2 separate regions of the Homo sapiens genome follow, and region 2 is linked to region 1. Evidence: promoter capture Hi-C in 16 types of primary human blood cells and fetal thymus (Javierre and others, 2016). All regions are on one chromosome and are shown on one strand. The core of a region is centred on a gene start or on the middle of the fragment in contact, and the rest is flanking DNA. Distances in the headings are between cores, read along the strand shown. Region 1 holds the start of WHRN (whirlin). Region 2 overlaps TNC (tenascin C).

Region 1 (4,271 bases), core at 1,066-3,565:
GCTGCCTAGGAGTTTCCCAGCAGCCAGCAGGCCCTCAGCTGGAGTTCAAAACACCTGCGCTGGCGGGGAGTGGGGGTTTACAGAACAGTCCAACCCCCTGAGAAGCATTTCTCTGCAGAAGCAGAGCATGTGTCCCTTTTCCCCCAAACTCTTCACTTCTTGTACGCAAAGGAGGTCGGGGGAGGGGGGAAGGGGGAAAAATGCCTGCAAAGGATCCATGAATCCACCCTGGACCCAACACTATCCATCATACTCCAACTGGTTTTCAGTAGCCCTGGGCTGTAGATCAGTAAGCACACACACTCCTTTAAAAAGCATGATTAAATCCCTGGAAGCCTGTTGTCATGAGGTTATATTTCTCAATTAACAAATGGCAGAAAGGACAAACACTCTCAGGGGCTAGGGAATTTATTTTTTACATTCAGGCAGGAGTCTCATTTCCAAAAAGGTTAGGGACCGCTTATTTGGTCCAGTGGCCCCATTTTCCAAGTGGAGAACAAGAGGTCCTGAGAGGGCAAGTGACTTGCTTCAGGATACACAACCTGGTCCAAAAACAGCAGCGTCAAGCCAGTGCACTGTGGATCACACAAACGGCCTCCTCAGGCCACTTAAGAGCTAACAAAACTGTTTCAGGGAAAAACAAAAAACAAAAAACCACAGAATGGCAGTAGCAAAGGCCACCTAATTATGCCAAGCAGAGATTTTATCTCTTTTAATGCTCATAAGAATCCACAGCCCTATTCACACATTGTAACCACACATTTGCTCAAGTATTTGTTACTATCACCTGCACTAGCTTTTAAGCCTCACAAAGGCAAGGGCCATGTCTGTGCAGAACTACGTTCCCAGTGCCTGAGAGCTATTTGCTCTGTAAGCTATACATTCCTGTTTTAAAGTATTAAAAAAAAAAAAAAAGCCCAGAAAGGCCAAGTGATTCATCTAAGGACACACAGCATGGAGTTACTGAAAAAGCTGTGCCACTCTGTCCATACTCTGCCCCAGACTCTCTCCAAACCACAGCCTTACCTTGACGGCCTCCGCGTGGGTCACCCGGGCCAGGGATTTGTCGTTGACGCGCAGAATCTGGTCCCCGACCCGCAGTCCTTCCTTCTCAGCTAGAGAGCCTGGTTCCACCAGAGACACGTAGATGCCCACGCCGTGCTCCGAGCCCCCACGGATGCTGAAGCCCAAGCCCTCGTGGGCCTTGGCACGCCGCAAACTCACCAGGCGCACCTCCCCTGGCCCCGCGCTGTCGGGGCCGCCCCAGGCGGGCTGCCTGTAGGGGGTGGTGGCGGGCAGGTAGAGGCCCTCGGCCGTGTATTGGTCGAAGAGCAGCTGGTCGGAGCGCGGGATGACCAGACGAAGCATGGGCAGCAGGCGCCGCTTGACCGGACTGTCCAGCAGCACGCGCAGGGTGCGCACCAGGTCGAAGACGTTGCGGCGCGCGTGGTAAGCGTTCAGGCAGTGGGTGAACTGCTCCCGCTCCGCCTCGCTCAGCAGCGCGGTCAGCGCTTGGTGCAGCTGGCGCACGTTGGCAGACAGTAACCGCAGCCCCGCGCCCCCGCCGCCGCCCGCCCCGGCCGCCGAGCCCAGCGAGCCGGTGGAGGACGAGCTCACCGACAGGCCGTCCAGCGGCGCGTTCATCTCCACGCCGAGGCCCGGCCGGGCTCTGAGCGCGCGGGGTGTGGGCGGTGCCGCTGTCCTCGCGGGTACTGGCGCGACAGCTGGATCCCCGGGAGCGCGGAGACGACGGCTGGAGCCTGGGTTTGGGGAGCACGGGTACAGTGGCTGGATCCTAGGGGGTCGCGGAGACCGCTGCTAGAGTCCCGGAGGCGCGAAGACGGCGGGGGTCGCGAACCTGGAATCCGGGGGACGCGGAGACGTCGGCGGGTTCCTGAGAGACACAAGAGTTGGCTGCTGGAGCCCGGAGGTGGCGGAGACTGCTGCTGGAGTCCGGGGGGCGCGGGGTCAGCAGCTACATTCTGGAGGGCACGGAGACGACGGGTGGCTGGAGTTTGGGGGCGCCGCAAAGCTGACCTGACTGCCCCGTCACACCATGCCCGGGGCTCCCCCAGCCGGGCGCCCGTTCCTCTAGGGCTGGGGGACCCCAAAGTCAGAAGTTGGGGCGGAGGGCGCTCTAGTCCCAGAGCACTCCGGGGAGTGGCAGCCGGTGAAGCGGCGCGGGCGTCCGACAAGGGGTGCGGGGCATGTCCGGGGCAGCCCCGGGATGCAGCCGCCCGGGGAGCCTCCGCGCCTCTGCGCCGCCCGGCCGCAAGCCCGGACTTTGCGAACTGTTGAGCCACCCGGGCCGAGTCTTCCAGCGAGTTCCGACGCCGTCTCGTTGCCAGCCCGGCCCGGGCCCCGCCCCCTCGTCCCTCCTCCTGCCCGCCCCCTCCCCACGGGCTCCTCAGGAAATGACGTCCCGCCCGGTGCGCCTGGCCGTTGCCTGGAGACGGGGTGAAACAGTCCAGCCCCAGGGAAGAAAGGGGTGAACGCGGCGGTAGGGGTGGGAGGAGCCCCCGCGTCCCCTACCCCGCCGGCAGAGCCGGGAGCGGGGCTCAGAAACAGCGCTCTTCGGCGGTCGCAGCGAGTGCCGACACCAGGATCGCTTTGGAGTAATTAGCCGGCTAGCTAATTCACAATTCGGGGGGAAATCGTCAAGTTTTTTGTTTGTTTGATTTTTGCTTCCAAAATACTGGGCACTTCAGTCTCGGTTTTCTTCCTTACAATGTGGCGCTCCCCTCCTGCACGCGCCCTGACATGACAAATTCCAGGGTTTATGTGGACGGTCGTTGGCCACCTACTGTGTGCGAGAGACGAATACAAGCATAGACTGCTGTCTGCCGGAGTCAACTCCGTGGCAGGGATGGATCAGGCTGGACCCCTTCCCAGTCTCCATTGCAAGGGAAAAGCCACTTTCAGAAATATTATATAAAGTGTACACCCCACGCTCGCGCACACACGTACAAATGAGCGCATATAAAACTGGTGAAATCTGAGTAAGGTGGGTGGATTTTATCAATGTCAATGTCCTGGTTGCCATCGTGTCAACATCGGGGGAAACTGGGTGAAGGGTACATGGCATGTCTATGTATTATTTCTTAGAACTGCATTTGGATCTACAATCTCAAAATAGAAATTAAAAATATACATATTTGAAGTGGCTTGGAGAAAAATCTCTTCTATGCTCTCCCATCCCTAGGCAAAATGGGAAGATACACCCAGGTGTGCCCTGGAGTCGGTCGTCACCCACCCAATCCCCCAAATAAGATTTAAGTAAAATCCTGTGCTTTTATTCTAATGGGGAGCTTCATAGTGCTACACACACACACACACACATACACACACACACCCTACCTCACACACATCCCTTCCAACCTGAGCTGCCTCTCCTAAGCTACTCTTCTATGTATTTTTCGTAAAAGTCTTCCAGAATTTCCATTGCAGAGCCAGCTGACATCTATCCAGGGTAGGGCAAGATGGAGGATTACCTGGAGGATTTGGTTTGTGGTGGACCCAGAAGGATAGATCATTCATTTATTTATTTATTTATTTATTTATTTATTTATTTATTTATTTGGTCGCTTTTCATTCAACGTTTTTGAAGCATCTGCTCTGTGCTGGGTCATGTGCTGGGTGCTGGAGACCCAGGGGAGAAAGATCAAATAAATAGAGTTAAAAACCAGTGTGATACCTGTTGTAATGGCGAGGGAGCCCAGGTTTAGGAGAGGAGAATATGGTAAGGACTTTACTGAAGAGGCGACACCTGAATGAAGAACCTGTAAGGAAAACGGACTTTCTCCTCTAGACAATGGGGAAGAGTGGAAAGGTTTTCAACACTGCTGACTTAATGCATTGAGGCTAGGAATGGAAGCTGTGTTTTCCCTAAAGATCTTCAATTCTTTACTTCCCTAAAACAGACATAGGTTAAATTAATGCCCAATAAACATATTTAACAGTGTGTCTGAGGAAGATTTTTTAAAAAATAGCCAATTAGGCTACCTTTGGCCATCTGTCTTAAAGCTCTAATCTTAGCAGTTAATGGTGTCTATCCTTATTCCTCCTTTGTAACTGTTGTTGAAGCCTTTCATGCAACTAGACCAAGATGTTTAAGGAAAAAAAATCAATCTTCTCCACCCCAAAAATGTATTAATGACATACCTCAAAATGCCACCAAGCAGGGCTTAATTGTATGCAGTTCAGGTTTCCTGCTAATGTGTTTCATGCTCAGCTCTCACTTAGTTTGTTTTAATTATAATTACTGTGATTGG
Region 2 (4,271 bases), core at 888-3,387, 530 kb after region 1:
TGACAATAAAAGGACCACACAATTATATGGGCCACATACTGGGCTAGGAGTTCAAATGCAATACCTCATGAACACTTGCAAGGTCCTGGTGACAGAGGATTTATTATTAATCTCCCTGTATAGACGAAGAAGCTAAAGATTATAGGATGGAAGTAGCATTCTTAAGGCACACCTAGCAGGTGATAGAAATGGGGACTGAATCCAGATGGGCTTCCTCCTTTCCTTTCACCGGGATGCTCATAATCTCCCACATTTGCTTTCCTCAGGCTTCCAAGTAGTAGCAGTGAATCGATTCTTTTCAGAGGTTTGTTTGAAAATTTTAAAGTAGAAGTCAAAGGGGAAGTCAAGGGTTGATTCAGTCAAAGTTAGATCTCAAGGCTGGATGGCACCCTGGGCCTCCTTACTTGTGGTGAAGATGGTCTGGATCATATTGCTCCTCAGGGGCCCATTGAGTGCCTGGATCTTGGCTGTGTAGTGGGTGGATGGGCTCAGGTCTGCCAGGCTGTAGGAGGTGGTATCTGGACCCACAATGACTTCCTAAGAGCAGAAGAAAAAGTATAATGGCTTTTGGTCACAGAAATTCTCAGGGTATAGATAAGAAGTCATTCTATTTATAAGTTCATTTACCCATCCATTCACTTACTTACTGGACAAGAATTCATTGAGTACCCACTCTCTACCAGGCTCCATGTGCACTGCTGAGATATCAGAGATGGGGAGAGTACAGCACAAGCAAAGGTCCTTGGGCCAGAAGGTGCAGAGCAAGTTAAAATAATATAAGGAGGGAGAGACCGCATCTGGTAAGGATGAGAGCACTGCTGTAGACTCCAGGGCTAAGGCTACCACCTGCCCAAGGCCCTGCCAAACTATATTGGGAGAATGGGATTGTAATGGTTAATTTTATGTGTTAAATTGGCTGAGCCATGGGGCCCAGATATTTGGTCAAATATTATTCTATGTTTCTGTGAAGGGGGTTTTTTTTTGGATGAGATTAATATTTAAATCAGTAAACTTTGAATAAAGCAGATTTAAAACATAAAATGAAATAATATAAGGAGGCAATAAGCGACCTCAACCATACTTAGCTTCAGGTGTTAGAACAGTGGAAAATGTTACTAGATTATGAAGGGCCTTTAAATGACAAGCTTTGAAACTTAAAGTTTATCATTAAACGGAGTGAGGAGCCCTGTAAGGTATAAATGCTAAGCTTTGGAACTTGAAGTTTATCATCACAAGAAATGGGGAGCCTTGAAAGATGTTTGGACATGCCAATGACATAAACCAAGCTGTGCTTTAAGAAGCTTAATCTGGTAGCAAGATGAATCACACAGGGTAAGGGACTTTGAGGTCAGTTAGGTCAGTGGTCCCTAAATATAGCTCTTTATCACTCTCAGAAGCTTTAAAACAATATGATGCCTGGGCCTCATCTCAGACTGATGGAATCATCAGAGCCAGAAGTTGGGCCTGGCTATATTTAAGAAACTTCCCAAGTGATTTGAATGTGCAGTCAGTTTGGGGATCTCTTGAGTTAGGAGATGATTATAATAGCCCCATAGGCATGGTAGGATTAAAACTTAAGCTGACCTCACATGTCTCTCTTCTAGAACAGAGATATCCATGACAGACAGATGTTGACCAACTCTAACTACACTTGTAGTCTGTGGCTGGTCTCTGTGCTGCTGTACAGAGGAGGTCATTGGTTTCAGTTTGCAGGAAATCCTCTTTCCACACCCTCTTGCTAGCTTCCAATTCTTTTCAGCAAATGACCTTAGTGTCTGGGATTGGAATTCAACCTACACTCCTAGTAAACCAAGCACAACGATCTTCTCTACAACCTGCAAACAGCCAGCTTAGTTTGGGCAGTCATGCATCAGTGCAGAAGCCCCTGGAAGGTTCTCCTGCATCCTGGGAACTGGGAAGGTACCTTATCCTGTTTTCTTCAATGGGAGAATTGAGTTTCAGAGAAGCTAAAAGACTTGCTCTCATTCCATAAATTGTTGGAGGCAGAGGATGATCTTGCATGCGGGTTTCCCAACACCCTGTCCAGGACTCTTTTCTCCTATACCAGGTTGATTTTTTTTCTAAGACATGTAAAGCTGGTGAATGGACATGCAGAAAAGTAAACTGGGATGAGTGCTCATTTAATACCCAGAGGCCTTTTTGCAGCCCCCCAGTTCTAGTCCCTGGGGGAAAGATCAACTGTCAGGGATAAAGCTGGGTTCATTGAATTACTTAGGAATACAATTACCTGTCAGTTCTCTAGGCTTCTGTGCAAAGCCATTTTCTAGGCAATTAGGGTACTCTAGATCAAAATGAGACTCATGATTCAGGTAAACACAGAATCCTAGAATGCCTGACAAGGAGAAGACCTTAAAGATGGATAAGTCCAAGGCATTCATTTTACAGATGGGAACACTGACACCCAGAGAAGATAAAGGATTTGCTTCAGCTCACACAGTGAGATAGTTCATTGTTATATCAATTCCAGGAAGGGGCATGATAGTTATTAGCAATGTGTCCAGTTCTGGTTAAATATGACAGATTGGATACAGCCACTCATCTCTACTTGCTTCTAAAACCCACTAAAAAGAGAGCAAGAGAATGTAAGGTATAAATCCATGAAGATGAGGGGAATGGGAGAGGAGACAGCAACAGGTGTGCCAGAAACTTGGTAGATAGAAAGTGAGTGGTAGAGAGACCATGGAGGGGAATGAATGAAGAAGGCTGAGGTTAACTAAGGAGCATGGGCAGAGCTAGTCAGAGGCTGCTTGGTGCAAGTCACAGAGTCCAGCAAGTTCAGTAAAGGAATGTGTACAAAAGCAGAGATGTCTTTAAAGGCCAATGTGGAGTGTGGTTGAACAAAGGTTTGGTTTGTTTAGAAGCTTTTTTGTAAGAAACAGACTCTAAGATCTCCTCATTCCCTCCAACAGTCTAAATGACTGCCCTTTCCCATTCAGATGGTAGGCTGAGGTTTACTCTCTGGAAAGGTTGAGCCAGAGAGGAAGTCCGGATTCAAATCCACCAGGCTCAGCCTTCAAGGAGGCCGAGGTGCTACACTGGAAACATAATAAGATGAAAGTTTGTACACAGTGAGAGGCCAGGTTTTATGGCACTGTTATTTGGGGGTCCCCCAAGAAAACTGTGGGTACTTGCCCAATCATTCTGCAGGGAGCCACAAAGTTGACAAGCCCTGCCTGAGCTAACTCCCTATTAGCTCTTTCATTCCTAGTTCAAATACAAAAAGACAGACCATGATCAACAGACATTGGGTGGATGTCTCCAACATGAAAGACAGAAACCCAAACCAAACCAAACTCAACAACAGCAGCAAAACAAAGAAACTTGTAACAAACACTGTGCAGGATATAGAATAAAATACCAGCAACATATTCTTAGAGATAAAGAGATGATGATATAGGAAGCACAAACAAAATGCCAGAAAAAGATCAATGTGTGGAGAACAAGCAAAAGATCTTGGAAATATAAAGTGAGATAACCAAAATGAAAAATTCAATAACAAGTTTGGAAGGTAAAGTTTAGGAAATCTCCTTCGCTTGTTTGAAGATCTAAAGTTATTTCAAATTAAAAGGTAAAAGAAAGAAAATTCTTGGGTAGCGAATATAAATAATATAAACACTGGATAAAAATGGTATTAACAGTTGATATCATAAGAACACGGTGAAACATATTACAATATATAATATAAAGATACCATCTGTGAGATAATACATATGGCAAACATGCAGAGAAACCTTTTGGCCTTTGTTCAACAAAATATTAAAGGATCAAGATTCCAGCTCCTAAAATGTCCTCAAGTCTTGTAAGCAGTGGTTCTTGATCTTGGCTGCCTATCAGAACTGGAGTCTGGTTAAAATGAAAGAGGCTGGAGAGTATGATTCAGAAGGTCTGGCATGCCATCCAGTCTCTACTAATTTTTTTTTTCAGCTCCCCAGATGCACTGGGGTAGAAAAACAGCATCAGGTAATTCTTCCATACTTTGAAGATCATGCAAATGCTTCAACTAGCATTGAGGAGTTGTTATATACTTAAAATACCTTGACTGTGCCATCCACTGATTCATAGACCAGCAGGTAACCGGTGACTGATGCCCGGGGGGGTCGCCAGGTAAGGAGGGCAGTTTCCGACTGAACCTCAGTAGCAGTCAAGTCTCTTGGAGAATCGAGGTCTGGAGAAGACAGGATGATTAATATCGGATAAGATCAGCAAATGTAGGGCAGAAATTCGGGCTGGGTATCAAGAAGACTGGGTTC

What was found. Contacts are between HindIII fragments. The CHiCAGO score rates a contact against its expected background, and 5 or more counts as called.
Region 2: a fragment that was not itself captured here is called in contact with the fragment with the promoter of WHRN in region 1 in 2 of 17 cell types (monocytes and activated CD4 T cells); the score reaches 5.9 in monocytes.

Annotation. Positions count from the first base shown.
Region 1 is chr9:114,503,158-114,507,428 of GRCh38, forward strand. WHRN (whirlin) reads right to left here and starts at 2,316. Exons shown (of 12, transcript NM_015404.4): 1 at 1,027-2,316. The coding sequence starts at 1,644. RefSeq lists enhancers at 805-1,695, 1,696-2,586 and a silencer at 2,111-2,410. The HindIII fragment of the contact is 12,008 bases long and covers 1-4,271 here.
Region 2 is chr9:115,031,149-115,035,419 of GRCh38, forward strand. It overlaps TNC (tenascin C), which reads right to left. Exons shown (of 28, transcript NM_002160.4): 22 at 4,056-4,186; 23 at 405-537. Among named protein-coding and RNA genes, the nearest start is that of TNC, 85 kb to the right of the region's middle. RefSeq lists an enhancer at 4,238-4,271. The HindIII fragment of the contact is 1,485 bases long and covers 1,396-2,880 here.